Linked DNA regions of Homo sapiens: all the other regions are linked to region 1. The links are contacts of gene promoters, found by promoter capture Hi-C in blood cells and fetal thymus (Javierre and others, 2016). All regions are on one chromosome and are shown on one strand. Each heading gives the region's core, a stretch centred on a gene start or on the middle of the fragment in contact. The rest is flanking DNA. Distances are from core to core; before and after follow the strand shown. Region 1 holds the start of TMSB10 (thymosin beta 10). Region 2 overlaps DNAH6 (dynein axonemal heavy chain 6). Region 3 overlaps TCF7L1 (transcription factor 7 like 1). Region 4 overlaps DNAH6 (dynein axonemal heavy chain 6).

Region 1 (2,795 bases), core at 292-2,791:
ATGAAGAAACTAAGGAAAAGATTTGCCCAAGGTCACACAAGCCTATGCTCTCTTCCCACTGTTCCAAACTGAAGGAACGTGAGAAAAGCAGGTAAAATCAGGAGGGGAGAAGCAGGGAGTGGTGCTCAGGCTTGTAATCCCAGCACTTTGGGAGGTTAAGGCAGGCAGATGGCTTGAGCCCAGAAGTTCGAGACCAGCCTGGGCAACATGGTGAAATCTCGTCTCTACAAAAAGAACACAAAAGATTTGCCGCTAGTGGTGGTGCACGCCCGCAGTCCCAACTGCTCAGGAGGCTGAGGTGGAAGAATCACTTGAACCGGGGAAGTCCAGGCTGCCATAAGCCGTGATCACACCACTGCACTCCAGCCTGGGTGACAGAGTGAGACCCTGTCTCAAAAAAAGTAAATAAATAAAATCAGGACCGAATTTAGGATGTCACCACCAAATCCCACTTTAAAGAGCTCGGTAATACTTCACACTTAAAAAAGGAAAGGTCAGGACAAATAAAAGAATGACCAGCCTTAACTCCGGGGCTGGTAATTTATGGAACTTATTACCTAACGGTGTTGCACAGGCTGAAAATACAACTTTTCTAAGAAAGATGTGAATAATTGCAGTATACCACTCCTACAATGGGTTAATAAGAAAAACAAGAACGTTTGTAGGCATGTGGGTCTCTATTATCCTCAAGGTTAACTTCAAGGAGGAAAACCGCACCCGCTGATACAGTGTTTCTAGGAGCTCGACGAGAAAAGGCAAACTGCGAGCCTTCTCGGGACGCCCTGTTCCCACCACAGCCCTTCACACAATGCGTCTAACAGCATTTAAGGAACACCCGCCACGCCAACGATCCTGCTGGAACCGCCCAGTTCAGGGAACAGGGGACGACTGACCAGAAGGCAACCGCCCCCAACCTGAGCAAAGAGCGCTGGAAACCTATTCCCCCCTCCCCCTACACCCCCCCGCCCCCCGCTCCACTACGGGACCCTCGGCTCGAATTCTTTTAGTGCAGGACCACCTTAGGACTCAGCCTCCCTAAGGAGAGGAAAAGTGGGGGAGGGAAGGGGACTCTGGAGGAGCAAAAGCAAGAGGCCTGGGGGCGACTGGGGTGGGGCGTCTCCTAGAGCGAGGATTGCTGCAGAGTGCGCGTGCACGCCCGCACATCCACACCCACGGCTACACATCATATCTGCACACGCACAAAACCACACACCCTCCCACGCCGGTCCCATATCCTTTCTGCGGGGTGAGCAGCAGATTCCCGGAAAGGGGGAAATGTAGCCGCAAAAGCAAAGCCGGGGGCCTGGCGCCCACTCTGGCGGCGACTACAGCCCCCACGCTGGGCACACTGCGAGCTGGGGGTGCCCGGCGCGGGAGAAGCCGCGCCCAGCCGGGCTGGTAGCCCAGCGGGGGGCGCGGCAGGGCGAGGAGCAGCCCGCGCTGCTCCCGCCCCTCGGGTGCCAGCACCGCCCCTGCTGCGGCGGGTGAGGGGCGGGGCGGGGCGCGGCGTATATAAGGCTAGGGGCGGGCGCCGCTCTTTTGTTTCTTGCTGCAGCAACGCGAGTGGGAGCACCAGGATCTCGGGCTCGGAACGAGACTGCACGGTGAGTGCGGCGCCGGGGCGGGGGGCCCACCCAGGGTGTGGTCGGATCCGGTGCACCGGGCGGGCGCGCCGCAACCGCGACAGGCGCCCTTCTCGGACCGGACGCAGGGGCCGGCGACCACGCCCTGGGACCGAGAAGAGGGGTGCGGGACGCGCCCAGATCCTCGGCCTTGGGGCTGCTCGGCACGCCTTGGCGCGAGTGCCACGTCGAGAGGCGTCGGCGGGGAGCGCGGAAGGGGACGCTGGCCCCCAGGCCCAGGTCAAGCGCCTTGGTTTGCCCACTAGGATTGTTTTAAGAAAATGGCAGACAAACCAGACATGGGGGAAATCGCCAGCTTCGATAAGGCCAAGCTGAAGAAAACGGAGACGCAGGAGAAGAACACCCTGCCGACCAAAGAGAGTGAGTGTGCCTCGGTCTCCCGCGCCCCAGCCCAGCCCCTCACCCTGCTCTTCCTTGCAAACCCACTCCTCCACCCCCCACCCCGCCGTTGTCCCCGGTGTGGGCGGCCCCGGCCACTCTTTCAGTTTCACAAAGCGCCTTGTTTCTCCCCAGCCCCAAGCTTCCTTCTAAATCCCCACACCTCGTGGGTGCCTCGCCCACACCGGGAAGCACCTCGGTTGCGGGTGGGGGTTGCAGCTCCCCTCCAGCGCCCGCTTCCCGCTCTCCACAGCCATTGAGCAGGAGAAGCGGAGTGAAATTTCCTAAGATCCTGGAGGATTTCCTACCCCCGTCCTCTTCGAGACCCCAGTCGTGATGTGGAGGAAGAGCCACCTGCAAGATGGACACGAGCCACAAGCTGCACTGTGAACCTGGGCACTCCGCGCCGATGCCACCGGCCTGTGGGTCTCTGAAGGGACCCCCCCCCAATCGGACTGCCAAATTCTCCGGTTTGCCCCGGGATATTATAGAAAATTATTTGTATGAATAATGAAAATAAAACACACCTCGTGGCATGGCTGGCGTGGTCTGAGTCTTTTAGTTGAGTATGCGTGGGCAGTGCCACTGCAGCAAAGCCCCTCGATGGAGTAGAGTTCCTGCCGCAAAGGGGAGGAGGTGGGTCGCAGAATGGGCTGACTCGGAGGGAGTTTTTAATTTTGGCTTTACCTGCTTCTCCGTAAGATTTCATGACTTGTTAGCCACTTAACTCTTGCTCGTAAGCAATCTGTGTAAAATTTAACCCCACTTTGTCCC
Region 2 (2,700 bases), core at 96-2,595, 370 kb before region 1:
GGCTTTGCCCTGCTCAGAGACAACATTCACATCCAACAGTAAACCTCATTTTTTGACTTAGCATTGACAGAGAGTGAAAATTGTGGATCTCCTCAAATCAAGGATACTAACTGTGCACTTTTCCATGGTCATACAGTGAAATAACAAGTAAAAGATTTTATTTCAATCATGAAATATGCAGGAAATGAAGAGTAAGATTTAGAACATTTTGTGAAACTAATATTACTAATAAAGACCATTTCTATGATTTTAGGGGGCTTGCTCAAGGGTCATGTCTTAGAGATATGTTCAATATTTTGAGTAGACAGCGTTATCACTTTGGTGCCAAAATACTTTGAAGATAAGAATACAATATTGGAATTTTAGGCTGACTGAATTATAGTGTATATGGCGAATGTACCTTAGGACGGATTTGGCTCTTTCCAGCATCTTATGATTTTACTAGTTGGAGGAAAATAATTGATCATGTATTAGTGGGCATATCTATCCAAAAATCATATTTAAACTCAAAAACCTGAGGAGATAACTTTTCAATCCAAATTTAACCAAAGAGCTGATAAGAATTTGTTTACTTCCATTTTCTAAATTGAAACACTCAGCCTTGCAGCTTTATAGCATAATGTACTTATTGGCTTACCATCTGATTCAGTGCTAAAAGCAGACTCCAGTGAAATGATCAAGAAATTCTGGATCCATAGATTGTCTAGAGGTCCAGAACTATGTGACAGAAGTTCTAGTTACATGGTCTCATTTCCAAAAACTAAGGTTGTTATTGAAGATCTTTTAATTTTTTTTAAAAATTACAATGGGGAAAAGGAGCTAGCTGTGTGTGAACCCTCATCTGTGGCTCACACTACCCATCATTCAGATGGCTAAAGAGAACCTTCTTATTAATTTTTTAAAATTATGACATATTTATTATTTTAAAATTTGCAATGAGACCTTCACAAAATTTACATAACACTGATGGTCTGAGTGAGTATCAAATGCCCAGTCAGTGGTTCCAGATGCTAAATGTTTAACACAGCTATAAGGCAAAGCTTCCCAAGGAGTGTACTGCAGCCAAGCAAGTGACTCCCAGTGTGCCCTAGTTGTTTATGGTGGTAAAAACTTATTTTTTAAAAAAAAACACAATCGCTCAGAAATTTACCATGGGTGAAATTTTCTTTTTCTAATATTTGTATGGTTACCTTGTCAAACTTCCTGAATTCAGAAAATATTTCCGTGGGTAAGACTGTGTAGTCCCCGCTGCCAGAGAGCAGCTCTATAGTGGGAACACAACACAGCCTCTGCCACCTTCCTGTTGAACCATCCCACTGAGTTTGATTGTTACTGTAAACACTTCCTTTAGGTTTCTAAGACAAACTCAGTTTATCAGCAAAACTCTTTGTTTTGTGTATGTGAGAAACACAAAGAAATCCTTGTTCAGTTTTTTTTTAATTTCATTTGCTCTTTTTTTGTGTGTTTTCCTTTTGACACAATATTAGGTGTTCCTAAAAAAATAAGCAACAAGATGTTTCTGATTATTTTTTCTATCCCTTCTTTCCTCTTTTCCTCTTGTTTGGTTTTTGATGTTACCAACTGGGAAAAATCTGAATTTTAATTGAATTTCATAATTAATTGTTTTTAAAACTTAAAAAATAATTTTTCAAAGCTTAATTTTCAAATTCAACTTGGGAAATGTAATGTTTAAAATGGTTCTCATGATTTTTTAGACACTGTTGTGGGTTTGAACCTAAAGAAAGATTATTAAGTCAAATAGAATAACAGATTTAGCATTAGAAATAACATTTCTTTATTAGAAAACATATTCTAATAAAATTATCTTGGTAAAGAGCACTGTAGGCTTTCGTAATTTTCAAAGGTCTTTTTGATCCTATATGAGTGTAATTAATGTTTATTTTTTTAATTTTATAATTTTACTTCTTAAATTAATGAAACCTATATACCAATACTTTATATTTTCTTACCACATCCTTGAGTTTTTAAAAAATTTTAAATCATTTGCTGATATTAAGGTCTACAATTCTCTTGAATACTTCATGGTAATATGGATTTAATTTTGACATTTATTTATCTTTTTGCTCATTTATAAGGAAAATTTTCTGTTAAAGCTAGAAAACTATCAGATCTATATGGCAAACACAGAAGTCAAAAGAGATGAGAAATTAGGCAGCATAATTAGGATTATCTCAAACTTAGATTTGTAAACTACAGTAATAGACCTGTCCTTTTGCCTAAATATCTTATTTGTATAAAAATGTTATCAAATTAACCAGTGGTGTCAAACAAGTTATTTCAACACCTTTTCAGAGATATCCACCCCACCCAGAAAAGGGTTTGAGCTTTTAAAAGCATTACAAGAACAAAATATGAAACAAATTTCTGTTTTTAGATTAGTATCAGATAAAGAAGCTCAAGAAGCTAGGAGTGCAAGAACACATAATATCTAACATCAGAATGAATCACTATTGTAGAATTGTGATTTTACCAGCTTGTGTGGAAGTTTTTTATACTACTTGGAACCAGAAAAGCAAAAAAAAAAAAAAATCAGTAACATCATTAGTAGACCAACATATTAGATGATATAGATGATCATAATCCAAGACATTATTAAAGTTTTATTGCAATATTTAATTGCATATTGATGAATCTGTAGACATTAGTAACTGCTAGACAACAGCACTATTTAGAGTCTCT
Region 3 (2,736 bases), core at 237-2,736, 380 kb after region 1:
AACAAGCTCTAAAGACTAACAGTAACATTGTATAAGCAACTATTTGTAAGATCCGATCAGTGTAATTTCATCACTTGCAGATTATTATCCAGACCCCTCACCATGGCCCCACATGCCAGGTGCCTGTCTTCCCTCCAGTGTCCCCCAGGAGCACTGTGTCCAGCCACGCAAAACACATATATGCCCCTCTAGAATATAAGCAACACGAAGACAGGAATCGCATCTGAGCGCCTGTTGTAATGCTCGGGAGCATTTGTTGAATGAATGGAAGAATGAATGGTCTGGTAAAAAGTTAATACCCCTTCTCTACCCACATTTACCCAAGATCCAACCCCTTTTTTCATTCAGAACTGTTTTTTAATTTTAAAAAATCTTTTTTTGAAACCGTAAAAGTAATGCATGCACTGTGTAGAACTCTTGGGAAAATGCCAGAAAGCACAGAAAAAGATCTATAATCCCACAACCCACAAACATTTTGTTAAATAGTATTTCAGTCTGGAGTGTGTGTGTGTGTGTGTGTGTGTGTGTGTGTATACTTATAACTTGCTCTCTGATGACCAAAATGCTTCCTGTCCAGGTAGATGCCTAATAAATTCTGCTGAGTTACAGGCAAATGGGGCCAGAGACCCAGAGACCAGGAGACAAATAATCCAGATAACTTGGAAATGGTTGCAGTTCTCCAAAACTTTAGAGTGACTTAATCCAGCTTTTTGGAAAATGGTCAGATATTCAGGGGTTTTTTAATGCAAATTTTAGCTGTTAGGCTGAGCATCCAGAATCAGAAAAGGGACCTAGAGAGTAAGGAGTTGAGGGATAGAGGAAGGTGTAGAGAAAAATCTAGATGAGGTTAGTGCAAAGGCAGAAATATCTACCACCTTTGAAACTTTGCCACCTCTCTCTTCCTGGTTGCCTTTTATTTAAACATTTTAAAAATAGATAGACATAGATGGTTTCCAGTTGTTTGTTTGTTTTGAGACAGTCTCACTGTTGCCCAGGCTGGAGTGCAGTGGCACAAACTCAGCTCACTGCAACCTCCACCTCCTGGGTTCAAGAGATTCTCCTGCCTCAGCCTCCCGAGTACCTGGGATTACAGGTATTCACCACCACGCCCAGCTAATTTTTTTGTATTTTTAGTAGAGACGGGGTTTCATCATGTTGGCTAGGCTGGTCTGGCACTCCTGGCCTCACGGGATCCGCGCACCTCAGCCTCCCAAAGTGCTGGGATTACAGGCACGAGCCACCACGCCTAGCCCAGTTTTTTTTTTTTTTTCTCCGAGACAGAGTCTCACTATGTCGCCCAGGCTGGAGTGCAGTGGTGCGATCTCAGCTCACTGCAACTTTCACACTCCGGGTTCAAGCAATTCTCCCTGCCTCAGCCTCCCAAGTAGCTGGGATTACAGGCGCCTGCCACCACACATGGCTAATTTTTGTATTTTTTTAGTAGAGACGGGGTTTCACCATGATAGCCAGGCTGGTCTTGAACTCCTGACCTCAGGTGATCTGCCCGCCTTGGCCTCCCAAAGTGCTGGAATTACAGGCGTGAGCCACCTCACCCGGCCCCAGTTTTTAAGCTAAAGTTAGCATCCTGTGCATATATTTGTATACGTGTGCGCTTTTCCCCCCATTTAAAAAAAATTAGAGTTAGGGTCTCGCTATGTTGCTCAGGCTGGCCTTGCACTCCTGGCCTCAAGTGATCCGCCTGCCTCAGTCTCCAAAAGTGCTAGGATTACAGGCATGAGCCATCATGCCCAACCTCCCCATTTTTAAGATATAATTTACATATAGTGAAATTCACATGAGTATATAGTTCTGTGAGTTTTGACAAACTTTTGCAGTCATACATGAGTTCACCACAATCAAGATATAGAACAGTTCTCCTAGTCAGCTTAGCTTGGTATGAAAAGTAAAAATAAAAAAGATATAGGACAGTTCTGTGTTAGGGTTCTCCAGGGAAACAGAACCAAGGTGATGTATGTATATATAGCGAGTGAGTGAGTGAGTGTGAATGTGTAGAGGGAGAAAGATTTAAGAGGGTAAGCTGGCAGGCTGGAGACTGGCAGGGAAGAGTTACAGTCTAAGTCTAAAGGCAGTCTGCTAGCAGAGTTCTATTCAATTTAATGCTCAAGAATAATCCTCTTTGGCACCATTCATTCTCTGTCCTTCCAGCCCACCAGGATGGGAGCTGGGAGCTGTGCCCCTGAGGCCCTGGGCGGCAGCCACACCTTGTGAATCCCCTCTTGGGGTCATTCTTCCCTCTTCTTGAAAGATAACAAATGTTTGCAGCCACATCACTGTAGCCCATTCTGTAGAAGTCTGACAGCCTTCCTTCCCTTTGTCCTGTCTTTGTCCATTTTAATCCAAAAGGGCAGTATTTCTGCTGAGGTGGTTGGTTGAATCCATGCTTCACAGCCCCAGTCTCATTATCTGATCGTCCAGCCACACCATTGGTGTTCTCTTAGGAACACACCTTCTCATTTTTTTGCAATGAGGCTAGGCTGAGAATTTTCTAAATTTTCAAGTTCTGGTTCCTTTTTGCTTAACAATAATTTACTTCTCACATTTTACTACAAGCAGTAAGGAGAAACCAAGCCACACCTTCAGCACTTTGCTTAGAAATAACTTGTGCTGAATATCTAAATTCATCACTCACAAGTTCTACCTTTCACAAAACACTACAAAATAACTCAGCCATGTTTCTTCCCACTTTGTAACAAGAATCGCCTTTCCACTAGTTCC
Region 4 (2,725 bases), core at 162-2,661, 270 kb before region 1:
AGTGTGGATCTTTGCCTCATTTCCAAATATTTCTCTAGGGCCTGTGTCTGCTTTGCTGCATGTATGTATTCATGTTGCATGAATTGCAACTTGTGTATATTGATATTGGGTTTGGAGTTTCTTAGAGACCTCATGATGGGCATTACTCCTCTCCCTCTGTTTTGGGGCTGCAATTCTCCCTTCTCAGTTGAACAGTCTGTTTCCCTATGCTTTCCATATTCCAGCTTTTTTTTTTTCAAAACCTTCTTCCTGCTGGCTTCCCTTTCCATTATGTTTTTATCAAGCAGGTACAGGTATAAGTGTGGTCACAGAAAAGGAGAGAGATATGCACACAGATCTATCAGCCTTTCTGTGATTTGTGGGAATCGGAGGAAGGGGGGAAGTAGTATGTGTTCAGTTGACCACCTTGAAATTTAAAACCACTAGTTCTATTACTAAAGAGATAGATATATGGTATAATGCAAGATTTATATACATGCTTAACCAATATCTCAAGTGCCCAAAAGAAATGCCACACTTTAGATGGTACATTCTTATTTTCCTCCACCATTAGGATTCTGCTGTAGAAGAAATTAAGAATCACTACTATAATCTGCACAGCTATGCCTTCTGCTCAGTAGTCCTTGTGTGTGTCTGCCATGTAGAATACCTTCTAAAGACAATGAAAGCTTCCATTAGTAAAATTTTTCAAGTTTTTTTAAAGTTCTTAAGTTTGTATGTTCCATGTGTTAAACTATTTGAGAATCTGTCAAGTATTTGCAGAGGTGAGTGGAGGTTATAAACAAGAAGGAAAATTGGTCAGATTGTCATTTTGTTTAAAAATAAAACAGATTCAAATCACTTAGAGAGACTCAAAAACATATTTCCTCTTGTAGAAAAGTGTTTACTTCTGACATAGACCAGTATTCACATAAAACTATTGCTTATTTGCAGATACCACCTCTTTTTTCTTTAATATTTCAGCTCAGAATTTAATTTTTGAAGGAGCTGAACTACACAATACAAAGTTGAACTGCTTTATTTTGATTTCAGATGATGGGGCGCTTCTTCAGTGGCTTGGCACAGTCAGGGGCCTGGTGCTGCTTTGATGAATTTAATCGAATTGACATAGAAGTTCTGTCCGTCATCGCGCAGCAACTCATTACCATTAGGAACGCCAAAGCGGCAAAGGTAAGGCACTGGGCAATCGACTTTCAAGGTAGCAATCCTTAAATTTGTCATTAACTCACAGAATGTTACATTTTAGGAAGGAGATGCTAAAAATGTTAGGGAGGAATCCTGGGGAGCCCAAGGGGACCTTGGCTCTCCAGAGCTCACTGGACTAGAAAATCCAAGGAATATGGTGCCAGATGAAGACACTGAGTGGTCCTGTTATTTAAAATTTGTTTTAGCCCCTTATTAGCATGTCTCTAGAGAAGGGATTTCATATTCAGAAGCTGATGGCAGTGAAGGTTGGGACCAAGTCTCTACCACTCTGTGTTGACCTTTGGAGATCTGGTCACAATGGGCAGCACTGGTGTTCAGCCTCTACAAACCAAAACAGCACTGCTCCAAGCCCTGTGAGGGCCCCCACTACTCCCTTGGCCCTTTCGGAAGAGCCCCAGACGTCCTCTCGATTCAACAATAAGGGTTCATCCTGGCACAGCACGGGGGACTCTGGACTCAGCTCTAGCTCCAGAGGCAGAGGCTATCTCATTGGAAGGTGTCCTGATAAGAGTTGTTAAATATTTTGATTATCGCCCTCTGCAAAAAAGCGAATTACAGAACAAATAAAAAGAAATCATGACTTGGACTATAGTGAGCTACTAAATTGTGTAAGTCATTATGGTATGTGCTCACACTTATTTCATCTTACACCAAATCTACGTGAAGTATATGTCATTTCCCCCAAGGTAATAGGTGAAAAGAATTCAAAGTTAAAAAAATATTTTCATAGACACCAAAAATTATTAGACTCTAAAGTCTAAGCTCCCTTATCTGTACTCCCTCTTGTTCCCGCATACTCTGGGGAGGCCTATATTAAACACAAGATCTTTAAATACAGAGATAGCATAGTCTATATTGTGCAAGTTATTATCATCTGGCTGAGCAATTCACTGAAAGCAAAGTATATGGAGTAAGGGGACAGGGACCAGAGAGAGTAGAGGCAGGATTGAAGCTTTGCCCACTGGAGAGCAGCTACATGAGGACAGAGGAGACAGGAGAGCATCTGCAAATAACCAGCCTCGTCCTGAAGCTGCCAGTGCCCTATGAGACAGTTGGGGTGGGGTATACTGTTTAGAATAGGTAAACTAAACCACAGAAATTGAGAGGTTTGCTAGCACAAGCAACCATTCAGCAGCAGCAGAAATGGTCTCCAGTTGTACCATGCATTCTCTCCTCCAGGCTGTGGCACATCACCTTACTCCATCCTGGTCTTCCCTGTATTCCTCATGTCTGTTGATAGCATCTTCATCTAGTGCCCAACTAGAAACCTGGAACTCACCTTGGATTTGACCCATCACTATTAATCCCAGAATCTAAGCCATCACCAAGTCTTGTTAATTTTATCTGCTAGATGCCTCTCCTCCCAACTTACACCTCTTGAATTCTGGCTCTCATTATGTCCCTAATGATCATTCCTTACTGGTCTCCCTGTCTGTAGCCTGTCCAACCTCTCTGCTGCCAATTTTGATCCTATCACTCTGCTTCCCCCCAAACATGGGACAAAATCTAAATTCCTTAG

Evidence for each region. The method cuts DNA at HindIII sites, captures the fragments that hold promoters and counts their contacts. A CHiCAGO score of 5 or more calls a contact.
Region 2: a fragment that was not itself captured here is called in contact with the fragment with the promoter of TMSB10 in region 1 in 1 of 17 cell types (non-activated CD4 T cells); the score reaches 7.1 in non-activated CD4 T cells.
Region 3: a fragment that was not itself captured here is called in contact with the fragment with the promoter of TMSB10 in region 1 in 2 of 17 cell types (M0 macrophages and fetal thymus); the score reaches 8.6 in M0 macrophages.
Region 4: a contact is called between a fragment that was not itself captured here and the fragment with the promoter of TMSB10 in region 1, in 6 of 17 cell types (naive CD8 T cells, non-activated CD4 T cells, total CD4 T cells and 3 more). The highest score is 8.7, in naive CD8 T cells.

The regions. Positions count from the first base shown.
Region 1 is chr2:84,904,115-84,906,909 of GRCh38, forward strand. TMSB10 (thymosin beta 10) reads left to right here and starts at 1,542. Exons shown (of 3, transcript NM_021103.4): 1 at 1,542-1,604; 2 at 1,889-2,003; 3 at 2,275-2,557. The coding sequence starts at 1,904. The coding sequence ends at 2,309. It overlaps LOC105374836 (a long non-coding RNA gene), which reads right to left. Exons shown (of 2, transcript XR_940308.3): 1 at 2,549-2,795. RefSeq lists a silencer at 1,299-1,838 and an enhancer at 1,805-2,795. The HindIII fragment of the contact is 2,703 bases long and covers 1-2,161 here.
Region 2 is chr2:84,533,149-84,535,848 of GRCh38, forward strand. The region is part of intron 4 of DNAH6 (dynein axonemal heavy chain 6); the gene reads left to right. Among named protein-coding and RNA genes, the nearest start is that of DNAH6, 18 kb to the left of the region's middle. The HindIII fragment of the contact is 614 bases long and covers 1,039-1,652 here.
Region 3 is chr2:85,288,722-85,291,457 of GRCh38, forward strand. The region is part of intron 4 of TCF7L1 (transcription factor 7 like 1); the gene reads left to right. Among named protein-coding and RNA genes, the nearest start is that of TGOLN2, 38 kb to the right of the region's middle. RefSeq lists an enhancer at 1,229-1,729. The HindIII fragment of the contact is 5,806 bases long and covers 1-2,736 here.
Region 4 is chr2:84,633,472-84,636,196 of GRCh38, forward strand. It overlaps DNAH6 (dynein axonemal heavy chain 6), which reads left to right. Exons shown (of 77, transcript NM_001370.2): 30 at 1,033-1,170. Among named protein-coding and RNA genes, the nearest start is that of DNAH6, 120 kb to the left of the region's middle. The HindIII fragment of the contact is 1,490 bases long and covers 667-2,156 here.